Regions from separate parts of the Homo sapiens genome. Here regions 2 and 3 are each linked to region 1. The links are contacts of gene promoters, found by promoter capture Hi-C in human tissues and cell types (Jung and others, 2019). All regions are on one chromosome and are shown on one strand. Each heading gives the region's core, a stretch centred on a gene start or on the middle of the fragment in contact. The rest is flanking DNA. Distances are from core to core; before and after follow the strand shown.

What was found. Contacts are between HindIII fragments. The study calls those that stand out against the background at their distance.
Region 2: a contact is called between a fragment that was not itself captured here and the fragment with the promoter of CDK5RAP1 in region 1, in 1 of the 25 tissues and cell types used here (small bowel).
Region 3: a fragment that was not itself captured here is called in contact with the fragment with the promoter of CDK5RAP1 in region 1 in 1 of the 25 tissues and cell types used here (pancreas).

Annotation. Positions count from the first base shown.
Region 1 is chr20:33,400,128-33,402,821 of GRCh38, forward strand. It overlaps CDK5RAP1 (CDK5RAP1 mitochondrial tRNA methylthiotransferase), which reads right to left and starts at 1,392. Exons shown (of 14, transcript NM_016408.4): 1 at 1,301-1,392. It overlaps LOC124904889 (a long non-coding RNA gene), which reads left to right and starts at 1,455. Exons shown (of 2, transcript XR_007067567.1): 1 at 1,455-1,548. RefSeq lists enhancers at 1,103-1,192, 1,333-1,532. The HindIII fragment of the contact is 17,720 bases long and covers 1-2,694 here.
Region 2 is chr20:34,782,564-34,785,257 of GRCh38, forward strand. All of the region lies in intron 2 of NCOA6 (nuclear receptor coactivator 6), which reads right to left. Among named protein-coding and RNA genes, the nearest start is that of NCOA6, 42 kb to the right of the region's middle. The HindIII fragment of the contact is 4,070 bases long and covers 1-2,694 here.
Region 3 is chr20:32,121,853-32,124,546 of GRCh38, forward strand. All of the region lies in intron 1 of TM9SF4 (transmembrane 9 superfamily member 4), which reads left to right. Among named protein-coding and RNA genes, the nearest start is that of TM9SF4, 13 kb to the left of the region's middle. RefSeq lists an enhancer at 1-179. The HindIII fragment of the contact is 6,207 bases long and covers 1-2,694 here.

The DNA.
Region 1 (2,694 bases), core at 142-2,641:
AATTCCGTGGCCAATCTGACGGGAGGCAGAGCTCAGGCAGTAATGCCAGCTTTGCTGCTCACCTCCTGCTGTGCAACCCGGTTCCTCACAGGCCACAGACAGGTACCATTCTACCACCTAGGGTTAGGGGAACCCTGCTATACACGTGTAAAGAGCAGATGTGGCCCATTACCTTTCCAATGAGATGACCTGCCACATCTGCTACTAGCACTTAGGAGCAATGCCAACCCAGTTTCAAGAGTCAGAGAAGAACAGCCTTAAAGTGTGAACTTTAAAATCGCCCCTTTCTACTCCATAATTGCTGTGTGACCTTTGGCAAGACAAATTTCTGTCTCTGAGCCGCCAATTCCACATGTGTAAAATAAGGATAAAAGCAGCACCTACCACCCCATAAGTGTTATTAAGAATAAGATATTAAAAACCCAACTTGAGATACAGTAAGCGTTCACTAACTGCACATTTACAGCCCACACCCCCTTTCACAGAGAGTATTAGAGCATCCTGGTTAAGAGTATGAACTCCACTAAAAATACAAAACTTAGCCGGGTGTGGTGGTATGCGCCTGTAATCCTAGCTACCCAGGAGGCTGAGGCAGGAGAATCGCTGGAACTCGCGGGGCAGGGGCTACAGTGAGCCGAGATCGCGTCACTGCACTCCAGCCTGGGCGACAGAGCAAGACTCCCGTCTCAAGAAAAAAAAAGTATGGACCCTGGAGTCAGAATCTGACCCCACTGCTGCCAAGCCAGCTAAACCTTAGGCACCTGTCTTAAACTCTGGGAGCCTCTAGATGGGGATAATAGCACCTATCTCCATAAGCCTACCGTAGGATCAAATGCAATAATACAAGCAAAATGCTTTGCATAACGCAATGTAGAAGCCTCTCTGGAGGCTCGAAATTAATTCTGACAGTCGGCAATGAGGCTGGAACAACAGCGTACAACATCCCAAACATTTTATTGGCTGGTTACAATGCGTTAGGCATGGTGCAAAGCATTTTCCGCGAATTATTACCTATAACCCTCATAGCAACCCTGTGAGGCAGGCTGTACTGTCAACCCCACTTCACGGGTGGCGAAGCGAAGCCTTGAAAGAAGTGGAGGTGACCTGTCCAAGGTCACACGGGGTTAGGCGGCGGGGTTAGGGTACGAACCCCTACAGCCTGACGCCAGGCCCCACGCCATAACCACCGTGCCATCCTCCCTCTTGAACACCGTGCGCTTCCCGGGATCCGCGGCCCCTCCTGCCCCAGGCGCCAGTCAAAAGCGGGTGCGCAGCCCACCCCGGCGGCCGCGCTGCTCACCTCCCGCAGCAGCAACAGTGCCCGGGGTCCCGCAGCGTAAGTTCTGCCGGCAAGTCGGATCCCCTCACAGGTCCGCCGCTGCGTTCATACACAAGCGACTTCCGTTCCGCCGCTACTTCAGGCCGGGTCATGCTAACGGAAGTGCTTCCTTTTTACAGTCCGGGTGGACCCAAAGCTCCGTGGCGGTGCTGAACTTTAGGGCAGCCACTAGCCACGGACTTAAGCGGCAATTGAGCTCCTCAAAGTGGGTGAGTGCAAATCAAATGTGCGCTAAATGTCAGATACACTGGATGTGGAAGAAGAAATGTCAAATAGTGTCAAATAGTTCATATATATAATGTTTATATTGATTATGTGCTGCAATAATTGTTGGGATATATTGGATTAAATAAGTACATTTGTTGAATTAGTTTTTTTTATTTGTAGCTATGGTGGTAGAAATATTTGAATTAAGTTCACCTGTTGTTTCTTTTTACTTTTTCAATGTGGCTAGCAGGGGGAAAAATAATATGGTGTGATCATGGCTCACTGCAGCTTCCGCCTCCCATGCTAAAGCAATCCTCCCACCTCACACTCCCAAGTGGCTGGGACTACAGGCAGGCGCCACCACGCCCAGCTAAAATTTTTTTAATTTTTTTGTAGAGACCGGTCTCCCCATGTTGCCCAGGCTGGTCTCAAACTCCTACCTAGGCGCAAGCCATCCTCCCACCTTGGCCTCCCAAAGTGCTGGGATTGTAGGCATGAGCCACCGTGTCCGGTCCTTACTGGGAAATTTTAAGTCACCTAAGAGGTTCACGCTCTATTTCTATTGGAGGGTGCTGCCCTGTAGGTTAATGACTTCCTGATTCACATCTCCAGCTGGACCCTCCCTGCAGTACCAGAGCCATAGCTCAGCTGCCTACTTGACACCCCTTCTTGAGTGTCTGATGACCATCTCTAACTTATACAGAACTCTTCATTTCCACACATGCACCTTCACCAAAAACCTGTACCTGTCATTCTGGCCCATCTCAGTAAATGGCCCAACCATCCTTCCAGGTGCACTAGGAGGAACTGAATGGTCATTTTCTTCACCTCCCTGGATCCCCACATTCTATCTGTCAGTAAGCCCTGTCAACTCTAACTCCAAAATGTCAAATCTGTCTACTCGGTAGCTACAACTACCCAGGCCACCATTGTCTCATCAGAAACAATCACAGTAGCCTGCTAATGGTCACCTTGTCTCCTGAGAACAGTTTCCCACACATAGCCTAAGGGAATTTGTGTTTGTTTTATTAAATCAAATTATATCACCCCTCTCCTGAAAACTCTCCGTGGCAGGCCGGGCGTGGTGGCTCACATCTGTAATCCCAGCACTTTGGGAGGCCAAGATGGGCAGATTGCTTGAGCCCAGG
Region 2 (2,694 bases), core at 125-2,624, 1.4 Mb after region 1:
AAACAATTAGTTCTTACAGTTACCAAAAATAAAAATACACTAGTCTTAAATTTAACATTCTTTTTATTATGTTATATGCTACTTTTTTATAAGCTAGAATGTCAGGAGAAGGGAAGAAAGGATCACAAGAAAATAAAACAAGTACATACTTTTTGAGAATTATAGGCCTTTGGTTGACCCCACAGAGCAAGGGGCTCCCCAAGACTCCCCCTACTTCTGTCTTGACAAAAGCTTAAAAGGAGCCAAGGTTTCTAAAGCCTTCTTCTTTCTCCAAACTACAAAGCACAACCAGACCTGACTAATAGCAACTGGATGATTACCTAAAATTCTGAAGTCTTTCATGAACCATTTTAAACAACTATTAAAGGGTTATTAACAGTGGAATGGCTGAAAATAATGATTCTGAAATAAACACTTAAAAATTCTTATATGAAAGGGCTGGGCGCAGTGGCTCACACCTGTAATCCCAGCACTTTGGGAGGTCAAGGTGGGCAGATCACTTGAGGTCAGGAGTTTGAGACCAGCCTGGCCAACATAATGAAACCCTGCCACTACTAAAACACAAAAATAAGCTGGACATGGTGGTGTATGCCTGTAATCCCAGCTACTAGGGAGGCTGAGGCAGGAGAATTGCTTGAATCCAGGAGGGTGGAGGTTGAAGGGAGCCGAGGTTGCGTCACTGCACTCCAGCCTGGGCAACAGAGCAAGACTCCGTCTCAAAAAAAAAAGGGGGTTGATATGGACAGGTAATCTTTATGGAGGTAAAGAACTGTGTTCCGGACAGAATTAAATTGCTTCCTAAATTTTAGATATAAAGAAGTTACATTTTCTGCTATCTTCAGGTATGCTGCTTACCAAAGAGTACATGTATTAAAGATCACACAGTGTGGCCATTTCCTCTGTTAGTTTGGGGATTGAAGATCACATACTTAACCCAAAAGTAAATGAATGAACATTAATTTTCAGCATTTGCGGTAAGCAAAAATGGCATGGAAACCTAAGAACCTCCCACAAATGTTCTAATAAAATAATTCCTTATAATTTTAACTATAATACAACATTGATTGATTGATTGATTGAGACAGAGTCTCACTTTTTTGCCCAGGCTGCACTGCGGTGGCACAATTCGGCTCACTGCAACCTCCACCTCCCAGGTTCAAGCAATTCTCCTGCCTCAGCCTCCCGAGTAGCTGGGACTACAGGCAAGCACCATCATGCCTGGCTAATCTTTTGTAGTTTTAGTAGAGATGGGGTTTTGCCATGTTGCCCAGGCTGGTCTTGAACTTCTGAGCTCAAGCAAGCCATTCACCTTGGCCTCCCAAAGTGCTAGAATTACAGGCGTGAGCCACCTTTTATTTATTTATGGCACTTATTTATTTATGGCACATGTCCAGCCTTTATTTATGGCACTTATTTATATTATTAAAGTATTACGAATTATTACTTTATACTTATAACTATAATTACAAGTTTCTTAAAAAAAAGATGGATAAGAAAATTAATCCCCTAAAAAGCAACTATATTAGGTTGGTAGGATCATTGATAAATTTTATTTTCCTATTTTCCAAATATGCTGCAAATCATTAGGAAATACAAAACTGCTGTAATATGGTTATATTCCTTGCATAAATGAAAAAAAGTAACTCAAACACCGTTTAACTTTTTTTTTTTTAATTTATTTTTTTGAGACACGGTCTTTCTCTGTTGCTGGAATGTAGTGGCAAAAACATGGCTCACTGCAGCCTCAACCTCCTGGGCTCAAGTGATCCTCTCGCCTCAGCTTCCCAAGCAGCTGGGGTTACAGGCGTGTACCACCGTGCCCAGCTAATTTTTAAAATTTTTTGCAGAGATTGGATCTTGCCATATTGCCCAGGCTGGTCTCAAACTCTTAGGCTCAGGTGATCCTCCCACCTTGGCCTCCCAAAGTGCTGGGATTACAGGCATGAGCTACCATGTCCAACCAATTTTTCTTTTTTAAATAGTGAGGCTGGTGGATGGCTTGAGGGCAGCGATTTAAGACCAGCCTGGGCAACACTGTGAGACCTTGTCTCTACAAAAAATAAAAAAATTAACTGGGTGTGGTGGTGCATGCCTATAGCCCCAGCTACTCAGGAGGCTGAGGCGGGAGGATCCCTCAAACCCAGGAGTTCGAGGCAGCAGTGAGCTACGATAGTGCCACTGCATTCCAGTATGGGTGATAGCAACATTTTTGTCTCTAAAAATAAAAATAAAATAGGCTGGGCGCGGTGGCTCATGTCTGTAATCCCAGCACTTTAGGCGGCTGAGGTGGGCAGATCACCTGAGGTCAGGATTTCGAGACCAGCCTGGTCAACATGGTGAAACCCCGTCTTTACTGAAAATAGAAAAATTAGCTGGGCATGGTAGCAGGCGCCTATAATCCCAGCTACTTGGGAGGCTGAGGCAGGAGAATCACTTGAACCCTGGAGGCGGAGGCTGCAGTGAGCTGAGATCGCACCACTGCACTCCAGCCTAGGGGACAAGAGCAAGACTTCATCTCAAAAATAAATAAATAAAATAAAATAAAAAAATTACTACTGACTAAACTTCAACAGCAAAGGCTTTCCAAAAACCAACCTAAGCAATCCTTGGGGGAAAAATTCTTCTGTTATAAGTAAATATGGCAAAAATACTTCCAAATTTGAGCAGAGCACCTTGTGTTCTGGCAATTATATC
Region 3 (2,694 bases), core at 76-2,575, 1.3 Mb before region 1:
CGGACGGGGCGGCTGGCCGGGCGGGGGGCTGACCCCCCCACCTCCCTCCCGGACGGGGCGGCTGGCCGGGCGGGGGGCTGACCCCCCCCAGCTCCCTCCCGGACGGGGCGGCTGGCAGGGCGGGGGGCTGACCCCCCCACCTCCCTCCCGGACAGGGTGGCTGGCCGGGCGGGGGGCTGACCCCCCCACCTCCCTCCGGGACGGGGCAGCTGGCCAGGCAGAGGGGCTCCTCACTTCCCAGTAGGGGCGGCCGGGCAGAGGCGCCCCTCACCTCCCAGACGGGGCAGCTGGCCGGGCGGGGGGGGTGACCCCCCCACCTCCCTCCCGGACGGGGCGGCTGGCCGGGCCGGGGGCTGATGCCCCCACCTCCCTCCCGGACGGGGCGGCTGGCCTGGCGGGGGGCTGACCCCCCACCTCCCTCCCGGACGGGGCGGCTGGCCTGGCGGGGGGCTGACCCCCCCCACCTCCCTCCCGGACGGGGTGGCTGCCGGGCGGAGATGCTCCTCACTTCCCAGACGGGGTGGCTGCCGGGCGGAGAGGCTCCTCACTTCTCAGACGGGGGTGCTGCCGGGCGGAGAGGCTCCTCACTTCTCATACGGGGCGGCTGCCGGGCGGAGGGTCTCCTCACTTCTCAGACGGGGCGGCCGGGCAGAGACGCTCCTCACCTCCCAGACGGGGTGGCGGCCGGGCAGAGGCGCTCCTCACATCCCAGACGATGGGCGGCTGGGCAGAGACGCTCCTCACTTCCTAGATGTGATGGCGTCCGGGAAGAGGCGCTCCTCACTTCCCAGATGGGATGGCGGCCGGGCAGAGACGCTCCTCACTTTCCAGACTGGGCAGCCAGGCAGAGGGGCTCCTCACATCCCAGACGATGGGTGGCCAGGCAAAGATGCTCCTCACTTCCCAGACGGGGTGGCGGCTGGGCAGAGGCTGCAATCTCGGCACTTTGGGAGGCCAAGACAGGCGGCTGGGAGGTGGAGGTTGTAGCGAGCCGAGATCACGCCACTTCACTCCAGCCTGGGCGCCATTGAGCACTGAGTGAACCAGACTCCGTCTGCAATCCCGGCACCTCGGGAGGCCGAGGCTGGTAGATCACTCGCGGTTAGGAGCTGGAGACCAGCCCGGCCAACACAGCGAAACCCCGTCTCCACCAAAAAAATACGAAAACCAGTCAGGCGTGGCGGCGTGCGCCTGCAATTGCAGGCACTCCGCAGGCTGAGGCAGGAGAATCAGGCAGGGAGGTTGCAGTGAGCCGAGATGGCAGCAGTATAGTCCAGCTTCGGCTCGGCATGAGAGGGAGACCATGAGGAGAGGGAGAGGGGGAGGGGGGGAGGGGGAGAGGGGGAGGGGGGAGGGGGAGGGGGGAGGGGGAGAGGGAGAGGGAGAGGCTTTTTTTTTTCTACGTAATAGCTTATGTTGGCAGTACTTCAGTAACAGTTCTACCTTCTATGTAAGTATATATCACTAAATTACCCTCCCTAAAGACTGTACCAGTTTACCTACATCTAGGCTAATCATACTTTTTAAAGCTTTATAACTCTGTTAAGCAAAAAATGAGATATTATTTTGACCTACAGTTTTTAAATTATGAATGATGCTGAGCATCTTTTTGTGTTTGGCCATTTGAGCTTTTTTTTTTAACTGCCCATTCGTATTTCTTTTGGATTATTTGTCCTTTATCAGTTTCTAAGTGTCCTTGTATATTGAAGAAAGTAGTTCTTGGTCAAGTATGTTAAATGTTTTTACCTAAACTCTTTTTCTTTCTCTTTGGTGTATTTTTTCATTTTTTTCCCTTATACATTTATATATACATTTTCTTTATACCTTCTGGATTTTGCTTTATTCTTAGGAAACTTTCCATGAAGATTATTTAAAAGCATATCCATATTTTCTTCTAATACTTCTATTTTAATTATACTTGTAAGTCTTTTATGTTCTTTTCACCAGTATCAAACACTTTGGATAGCTCTCTAGCTCACGTGTTCTCTCTCTCATATATATATATATATATATATTTTTTTTTTTAAAGAGATAGGGTCTCCCTCTGTCATCTGTGCTAGAGTGCAGTGGCACAATCATAGCTCGCTGCAACCTCAAACTCCTGAACTCAAGTGATCCTCCTGCCTCAGCCTCCCAAGTAGCTAGGTCTGCAAGCCCACTTCACCATACCCAACTAATTTTTAAATAATTTTGTAGAGACAAGGTCTCACTATTTTGTCCAGGCTGTTCTCAAACTCCCATCTGTCCTCAAGTGATTCTCCTGCCGAAGTGCTGGGATTGCAGGTGTGAGCCTCCATGCCTGGCCTGGGTAGGTCTACATTTTAATGTTTAGTAAAACTAGCCTGCCTTCATTATTTCTCTTTTCAAAATCATCCCGAAGTAACGGACAAATACCAAATTGACTACAATGGTTTGTTAAAAGAAAGGCTTTGAATTGGGGGAGAGACAAGTGAGACAAACAATCAGAGGAAAATAATTGGAAAGGGATGGTCAAAGGAGAAAAATAAGCAGTTCATCTGTGGCAGTACAGTTCTTCTTGAACACCTCTAATCGTGACCTCAAACTGTCCCTAAGCATGGTTCCCAGCCTGGTGATAGACCTCTGTTCACTTGGCTGTGCCAGTCTGGGTGGAACTGGACTTACTTCACTTTGCAGATAACTTGCTGTGTGACCGTGGGTCTTTCAGTTTCCCTC